Regions from separate parts of the Homo sapiens genome. Here regions 1 and 3 are each linked to region 2. Evidence: promoter capture Hi-C in 16 types of primary human blood cells and fetal thymus (Javierre and others, 2016). All regions are on one chromosome and are shown on one strand. The core of a region is centred on a gene start or on the middle of the fragment in contact, and the rest is flanking DNA. Distances in the headings are between cores, read along the strand shown.

Region 1 (3,068 bases), core at 95-2,594, 700 kb after region 2:
AGGATGCCACTCATTACAAGTTTGTCCTACTTCTCAATCCACTGTAGGTCCTGTCTGAATACTATTCCCATATCCCACAACTCTGTGAGTCATGCTTCTTTATTTCTCTCGCATTCATTTTCATTGTCCCTCTATGGCTTTTCCTTTCCACAGGGAAAGACAGAGCAACTCTAACCTTGACTGTAGGTCAGGGTTAGAATGTTGTTTGAAAACTCTTTTATCACCCAGCCAGTCCATGACATGAGTTAGGACTCATTCAAGTTCCTTATTTAAATAGGAGCTAAAAATAATATTAATTAGGAGGAGGAGGGCATATATTAGTATATACAATATACTATGATTGAAATGTAATAAGTGAATATTAATTGATAACATATTGACATTTTAGTGTAAGATTAATTAAACACAGGAGCTCCAAATGTGGGTGGATGCTTTTCCAGGTGTTGCAGAGCTTTGCTGTAAACCTTCCCTGATCTTGGCTGCCCCTTTTGTATCCACAAGGAAGATGAAATCAGGAAAGAAACGAGTCATTTCCATGAAACAATCTGAAATGCAGAGAAGAGTTGTGTTTGAAAATGTGTCAGAAGAGACAAAATGGTATGACTTTTCCTCTGTTCTCTACCTGGACACTTCGGCTCCTCCCTAAAGACCCTCATCTCTGTGAACCTGACACTCCTGTGCAGTTATGTGCACCATCCTTTACAGTGGAGCTTCTCATTCTTAGCACTCCTCACGTTCTCGGCCAGATCATTATTGTCATGGGCTATCCTGTACATCGTAGGATGTTTAGCAGCGTCCCTGGCCTCTATGCAGTAGATGCCAGAAGCACCTTCCAGTTGTAACAGCTGAAAGTATCCCCAGATATTGTCAAATGTCCCCTAGGAAGGGGCCGAATAGCCCCCAGATGAAGACCACTGCAGACTCAAGAATTCAGTGAGCCCAAGAGAACCCTAGACGATTCCACTGTATTGTACAGAGTGGAAAAAGGGCTGCTTGGTTAAATGTTGGTTGTAAGCATTGAATTTAGACCATTGTCAGATGTGGTTAGAGCCCAAATTAACAACTAAAACAGAACTATGGGTCTTATATTTCTCAGCATAGGGGGCACAATCGAGCAGGCTCTTTTCCTTTATTTAAGTAGGGCCTTTGGGCAAATGCACTTCTGAATAGCCAATCACTAAACACATTTCTCTAGGTACCTGAGAGGAAAAAATCAGCACTGGTATGAGTTCTGTGCTGTGTTCACACATCTCCTTAAGCTTTCATTTTACTCTCAGCAATGACAAGCCAATTCCAGTCCATTTGTGACCTGCTAATGGGGTGCATTTTCTTATTTATCTGCTTTCACATTGTTCAGGGCCTCTTTGGGAACACTCCCTGATTGCTCTCCAATCATTTCCTACCCCTTTTGAGAACATTAGGTATGAATTCAAGCTTGTCAAATCTTATATGATATATTCCATTCAGGAGCTAATACTTCATCAACCTTACCTGGCACTGGAAAATTCAATTTCTCAAGATACCAGCTGTTATCCTGGAGACCTTGCATATATGTTTGCAACAGCTAATAGAAACTCAGGTTTTTTTTTTCTGGCTGGTAAAGTTCTATGAATTGTATGCAAAGTATACCTTAATAAATCTTTAAAAATAAATGAAATGAATAAATTTATGGTATAATATAACTGCTTCTTTGTTATCACCCTAAATAACAACAAATAAAATAACAATACAATATATATGCAGATTATAGGACTTTTTAAAGGCATTTTTGTGTGAAGGCTGTTGTTTAGCTTCAAAAAGAACATTAAACTGTGGAGTCGTCTTTGATAAGGTTAGAGGCATATTATAATGAATATCCAGTCAACATCAATTTTTTGTTTTAAGGGTTACAAATGTTGAAAAGGCCATCCATGGAGACACATTGTTCCAAATGGAATTAAAACTTCCATAGCTCAGTTTACAAGGTGAAGATAATCTCTCAGAGACATCAGGATGCTCCAGACATTTTTGTGTTAAACTCCAGTTGTGAAAACATTCAACTTCATCATTTGATCTGGAGACAGGAAAACCATGATCATGTGCAATCTCGTAGCAGGTTAATAACCACAGTAATTTCAAAGAAATCATGACCATAAAAGATGATTTCAGAATATTTGCAACAACTATAATCTGATGCAAAAGTCTCTGTGAGGCCAGGCGTTGTAGCTCACCTGTGTAATCCCAGCACTTTGGGAAGCCAAGAGGGGAGTATTGCTTGAGCCCGGGAATTCAAGACCAGCCTGGGCAACATAGCAAGACCTTGTCTCTACTAAAAAATAAAATAAAATAAATGCTGGGTATGGTGGCATGCACCTGTACTCCCAGCTACTGGGGAGGCTGAGGAAGGAAGATCACTTGAGCTTGGGAGTTCAAGCCTGCAGTGAGTTATGATCACACCATTGCGCTCCAGCCTGAGTGACAAAGCAAGACTCTATTTTGAATTAAAAAAAAAACAAACTCTGTGATATTTATGGATGACAGAGGTACAGGTACTACTAATACTATTCCAGTTTCCTGCATTCCTAATGAAGAGAGATGTTCAATTTCAGTTGGAGTTTAATAAAAACTAGATTTTTAAAATTTAAATTTACAGGACTCCTGAATTCTATCCATAGACTCCCAGGTCAAGAACCACAGATCTAATGAACTGACATACTCCATTGCAATATGAAGGGAAAAAGCAAGGCAGAATTTTAAAACATTTGGAAGACAATGTAATTCAGATTTCCACCCAGCATCTGTTCCTTACAACTTTGAGATCATCTGTTTCCCCATCATTCATTCAGTCTTGGTCTCAGAGACTGGCCCCCTGCTTTTCTCTGAATATGGTCCTGCCTCGGGGCCTTTGTGCTTACTGATCTTCCTGCCTGAAAGAAAAAAAAAAAAAAACAAAGTTTCGTTTAACTTTCTGTGTAGCTGTCTTTGTCACTGCCTTGAGATTTTGACCTGCTATTTAGAATTGCAATTTAGAATTTAGAATTGCTATTCGGAATTGCAATCTGTGCTGTGAGAGTTAATTGCAGCACTTA
Region 2 (2,771 bases), core at 47-2,546:
ATTTATATTAACATTAAAAGGTAAAAAGAACTTGCCATCTTTTTTCTCTGAATCTACTTCTTAAAAACATAGAATTCATTGTTACTCTACTATGATATTTAAACTGATCCAAAGTTAGTCATTTACGGAGTAAAAATTAATCATATTATTTTGTTTTAAAATTAAGACCTCCAGTAAAGCACATAGGTGACTAACAAGGAATATTCCACAAAAAGTAGGTTACTCTCCTAGCTTATGGTAGGACATGCATTTTTCATTCCCCCTTCCCAGAAGCTGCTAATTATCCGCATTGGACTATCTACCCTTCCTCTTTTTTATTAATAATAATATTTGTAATTTTGATTTGAAATAGCAGGGTTACTCGTCAGACTTTTGTACAGATTTATGAACTTCCACTATTTTCAGTCCCTTTAGCCAATTTAGGAGAATAGCATATGCACTTTATTACATGACTGTTCCTAGTGATTAACATCTGGAATGGGCAGATGAACTAAACTCCCAGTTGCACTTTTCCTTGCTCCATTTCTAACATGGAGCCCTGCTCTAACCTTTAACCATGGCAAGAAAAGATTGCTACTGCCCCCTGCCGGCCCATTGTCTCATTTCCTTTTCTACAAATCTGTGACTTGCGGATGCCCAAGGATTTTGAGCCACTGAAGAAAGCTCAGTTGGAAGGGGCTTTCCCTAGTACAGAGGTAGAGAGATCCTTTGGGACTAGGCGGCTAAAATCAAATGAAAACATTAAAAAGGCGAGGAAGGCATAAAGGACTTCTAAATTAAATTATCGATCTTCATGAACCTTCTTCTGCACGCGGGCTTCTCTGTGCCAAGGAAATGTTCCCTTCTCTTCGGCACAGGACTCCTCTTTGCCTCCGGCTTGCACTGACAAAGAGTGAACTGTCCACACCCTTATTATAATTTCAGTACTCTGAATCCTGTTCTCTGTTTCCCCCAATTTCGTTTTCCCACGATTAAACCTTATTCCCTTCCCTTTTCTGCTTCAAATTCCCGTCCCGCCCACCCACCGACAGCCTAGCATTTCCAGGAGCTCAGACCCCACTTCCCTCACCCTCTCCGTCTCCCGACCTCTCTTCTCCTCTTGCTGTCATCGTACCCCCTTCAGTATCCCCTCGCTGAACGGCCAGTCACTCTTTGCCTTCGAACAGCAGGCACGTCCCCTCTTGAATGCTTTTCCCCGACCCCCGCCCCAAGCAACTGAAAAAGGAAACATGCGCACTTCAGAGCTTGGAGCTGTCCGAGTGCTGAAATTTATAGGCTGGGTAAGATCACGTCTCCGTCTCATTCTATAGCCCTCATTCCAGCACAGGATCTCAGCAATTTTTCCCTCTTCCCCCCACCCACTCCAGCGCGCAGAGTCCTTTCTTCTCTCTCATTTACAACTTCTTTTTAAAAGAAAACATTTTCTAGAAAAAGGGCTTTGCTAAACAGAAAAGATATAAAACAAAAGCCACAGCTATCTAGCATGGCATTGTCACCAACTCCCTTTGCATGGTGATGCGATTAAGGTAGCAGCATTTTTATTATTCAGGAAAAGCAGCTGGGGGATTCATCAGTTCTGAGGCTTTGTCTTTCTGGGTTAACTGATGGTCCCAAGCCTCGGTTTGACCTGACCATGATGCCCAGGACTGGCACTTTTTCTTTTTTCTCAGCAAACTGTACAAAACCAAATCTCTTTTTGATTTTCAAGGAAACTAGGTTCCTGCCAAATTTTGAATCTGGACAATAAACAGACACTTTGTCCTAGCATCTTTCTGGAATCATTTCGGGATATTTTCCACAAGCAACACAGAAACAGGAATGAACCGGCAGCTAGTGAACATTTTGACAGCCTTGTTTGCATTTTTCTTAGAGACAAACCACTTCAGGTAGGTGAAACGACTTTGCATGTTGATATTTAAATTGTTTAAAAGAGAATGTGTCATGTAATTGTGTATTTATCTGTGCTCTGGACTATATTATTTTAATTTTATAGAGGAAAGTTAGATATCTTTTGTTCATTTAAAACGCCTAATAATTGTGGGAGGGTGGTAAATTTTTCACAAAAGCAAGTTTTATGATGCATAGCCGCACTCTATGCAATTCAACACACATTTTCACAGCCAACGTGATATTAAGGTAGTCTGATGAGTTGCATGCTCTTTACATTTCTATATAAGGGTAATTATTTTTCTGAAAGTAATTTAAAGAGATTATTGGGTGCAGTGTTTTTCATATAAGATGATTGTATTAATTTGGCAGGAGCATGCTCATTTTAGATAAAATATAAAAGATCCCTAATTCTCAGCCAACTTGGGACTTCTGTTATATTTCAGAAACTAGAAGCATACTATGAGGACTACAATTCAGGAATTTTCTTGAAATATCAAAAATTTCTTTTTACTACTATATTCTACTATTCAATCTGTTTGGAAATGGATTGCCTACCAAAATTTAGTTAATATGACATAATTGTATTTATGTACATATGAGAAGTGGAGCATGCATAATTTTAAAAAGTGAGAAATTACTATTTTCATGCTTGCATTTTCTACATGGTTTACGAATAGTTGCCAAATCAATTGATACCTCAAAATATCAAATCATTACCAGTAAGTGAAATAGTCATCTAATAACAGAGAGTGGAAGACTGAGCAGAGACAGGAGATGCTCTTACAACAAAGTATAGGACTCTAAATTTAATTTTCATTAAATTTTATGGCATTTTTTCACAGAACCAAGATAAATGGAACACATAGTAATAATGCTATGAA
Region 3 (3,086 bases), core at 415-2,914, 520 kb after region 2:
GGAAAGATTTTTAAAGCTTCTTTCAGGGAGAGGCATCTTCCTCTTGAAGTCAGAAAAGAAAACATCTCATGTTAGTCTTCACCATTCATATTTATACATAAAACAATTCAAATCCTTCCCCATCACAAGCTTGAAACATTAATGTTTAATCTCTTCTCCAAAATATGGAACTTTCTTGTACTCTACATCAGAAAAATTGTTGGGGAGAAAGTGGGGGTGTTGTCAGAGGCTGATCCTTGTGTGCATATAAAAAAGTTCATCTTTTTCCAATTAAGAAAATGTTTCCTTAGCAACTATGCACCTATATTACTCATTCCTCCTACTTTGAAGTTTGTATTTGTCTTCAGTCTTTCCTCTATCCATTAAAACAAAATCCATTCTTCTTCACATTAAGTAGTCATGACTTGATTTCCACGTGTAGAATTTCTCATCCCAAACCCTGAAGAAGTCTAAAATTTGATGATCCAACTCTTTGTACTTGACATTTGTGTGCTATCTTCACTAATTCATTGAGTGATGGAGACTTTGTGGTCCCTATTTGTTTGCTGCTTCTGACTGCTGCATTTGGGTTTCACCTCTATTAATCCTTGGTTTTCCCAAGGGATTTTGCTTTCTCTGTCCTTCTGGCTCTTGGTGTACAGGGCTGTTTCTGTCAGAAAATTATGCTCCTGCCATGGTCTCCCAGAACCCAAGGTGAACCCTATCGCTTGGCTGCCATCCTAGAACAGACAGCCTTCCATTCCAGGGTTGGAACTAGGAAAGAGATTGCAACCAGTGAGAAGACATTTCCTCTGCTACTTCACATCCGTAGACGTTTATGTGAAGCTGACATCACCCCAGCTCCAGAGGTGGTCGTGAGACTCAGGACCAAGCCAGACAGCCCAAAGAGTAAAGTGGTTTATATTTGGGAAAGGGGCAAGACTACCCAGGTTTTACTCTCTGCTTTACCACTTATTAGCTCTGGGACATCATCTTTATATGTCTCACTACCTTCTTCAGTAAAATAGACACAATAATAATGCCTATCGCATGGGAGAAATGCTTAGAACCATGTTTGCCACATATTAAGTGCTTGATAAATAGTTTTCTTTTTTTTTTCCCCAGGGCTTTATTCAGAGATGAGCTAAAGACCAAGTTGAGCCAGTGAGAATGAGAAATCAGACTTCTATGAAGGCTTTTGGAGAAGACTGTCTCTCTTTCCCGCTGACCTTAAATCAGGAAAATGTAGGTCTGAAGCCTACATTTTGGCCTCCTATGGGAACCTGAGCATAAAGCCAACATAAAGAACAGATCAAAAAGATATCAAAGTAACAGCTGCTGGTGACAGGCCTCCTGCTCCTGGGCTTACCAGTTAGCTGAGCCTGAAGCCAAATTGATCCTTGCACTTTTCATTTGCTTGTGACAGTTTAATCCCTTTTTGGTTCTAACCCAGTTGGAATTGGACTTTCTGTCACTTGCAATCAGAAGATCCTAACTGATTCAGGAGTCAAAGATAAAATGTCTTTGGAGCTGATAGCTAAACATTTTCCAGGATTCCTCGACCTGCATTACCAAAGTAATTACTTGTATGGTATGTAAAATCTGGTCCATTCACTACTTCCCACAGCTGGCGAGTACAAGCAGGAAGGGAATTGTATCAATACAACAGGAAATCAAACTCAATTTTGGATGACTTGAAAAAAGTCTGTTTACAAAGAGATTATTATTTTTATTTTTTTATTTATTTTATTTTATTATTATTATACTTTAAGTTTTAGGGTACATGTGCAGAATGTGCAGGTTAGTTACATATGTATACATGTGCCATGCTGGTGTGCTGCACCCATTAACTCGTCATTTAGCATTAGGTATATCTCCCAATGCTATCCCTCCCCCCTCCCCCCACCCCACAACAGTCGCCAGAGTGTGATGTTCCCCTTCCTGTGTCCATGTGTTCTCATTGTTCAATTCCCACCTATGAGTGAGAACATGCGGTGTTTGGTTTTTTTTGTCCTTGCGATAGTTTACTGAGAATGATGATTTCCAATTTCATCCATGTCCCTACAAAGGACATGAACTCATCATTTTTTATGGCTGCACAGTATTCCATGGTGTATATGTGCCACATTTTCTTAATCCAGTCTATCCTTGTTGGACATTTGGGTTGGTTCCAAGTCTTTGCTATTGTGAATAGTGCCACAATAAAGAGATTATTTACAAAGCTATGGAGAACATATCACAGGACTGGGTGCAGGGAAGTTGTTTCTATTCCTAAGCCTGCAGGGATAAGGTGAGATTGAGATTCCAGAAAACTGGAAAAAGAAAACCATATAGAAAAACCCACCTATGAAGAAAACATTGACCTTCAACAGGAATCCTGGAAGTATCAGAAGAAATAAGAGGGGGGGAAATCCATCCTGCTAGGGCTCCTCATTGGCTAAATTGGAAGGGAGATGACAAAGTGCAACATCAAGAAAGGTGCAGGATAGATCTGGAGAGGCAACGGGAAGATCCCAGCCCAAGGACTTGAATGGAACTGTGCTGCTTCTGACTCCCTCCATAATCCCCCAAATTTTAATTTCTACCATATTTGATTCTATAAAATTTTCTGATGAATTCATTGAAAGAGCCAATATTTGGGGCCTACAAAGAATCCAGCATAGTATGTTTTCAACTAACCATACTCTGGAAGACAATGATAAATTTGAAGCTGTCCACAGAAAAACAGTGATCATAAAAATAACTTCAGTAAATGGAAAATTTTTTCACTATAAATTCATTATAAGGGGACTAAATAAAATATTGTATATATGCTAAATTGAATATCATGTAGCCATTCAAAGGATTGGGCTGGATTTATGTATTGATGAGGCTAGGTCTTAAGTATGTTATTATGTGTGAAAGCTAGGTACATAACAATGTATACAGTATGGTATTTTGGGGGGTAAAAACAAGGAATTAAAAAGAATTCTATAAATTGTCACTCTATATTTGAAGTTTTTACTACATACAAGTATTATCATTTTCCAAAAATGAAAAAAAATGAGCAAACTTTTAAAAAACTAAAGACAGACAAGAATCGATTGTAAGTCATTTAAAGATAATTT

The links. Contacts are between HindIII fragments. The CHiCAGO score rates a contact against its expected background, and 5 or more counts as called.
Region 1: a contact is called between a fragment that was not itself captured here and the fragment with the promoter of GLRA2 in region 2, in 1 of 17 cell types (M1 macrophages). The highest score is 6.3, in M1 macrophages.
Region 3: a fragment that was not itself captured here is called in contact with the fragment with the promoter of GLRA2 in region 2 in 1 of 17 cell types (neutrophils); the score reaches 8.9 in neutrophils.

The regions. Positions count from the first base shown.
Region 1 is chrX:15,225,606-15,228,673 of GRCh38, forward strand. No RefSeq gene overlaps it. Among named protein-coding and RNA genes, the nearest start is that of ASB9, 43 kb to the right of the region's middle. The HindIII fragment of the contact is 175 bases long and covers 1,258-1,432 here.
Region 2 is chrX:14,528,240-14,531,010 of GRCh38, forward strand. It overlaps GLRA2 (glycine receptor alpha 2), which reads left to right and starts at 1,297. Exons shown (of 9, transcript NM_002063.4): 1 at 1,297-1,886. The coding sequence starts at 1,819. The HindIII fragment of the contact is 5,355 bases long and covers 1-2,771 here.
Region 3 is chrX:15,045,360-15,048,445 of GRCh38, forward strand. No RefSeq gene overlaps it. Among named protein-coding and RNA genes, the nearest start is that of MOSPD2, 170 kb to the left of the region's middle. The HindIII fragment of the contact is 3,075 bases long and covers 128-3,086 here.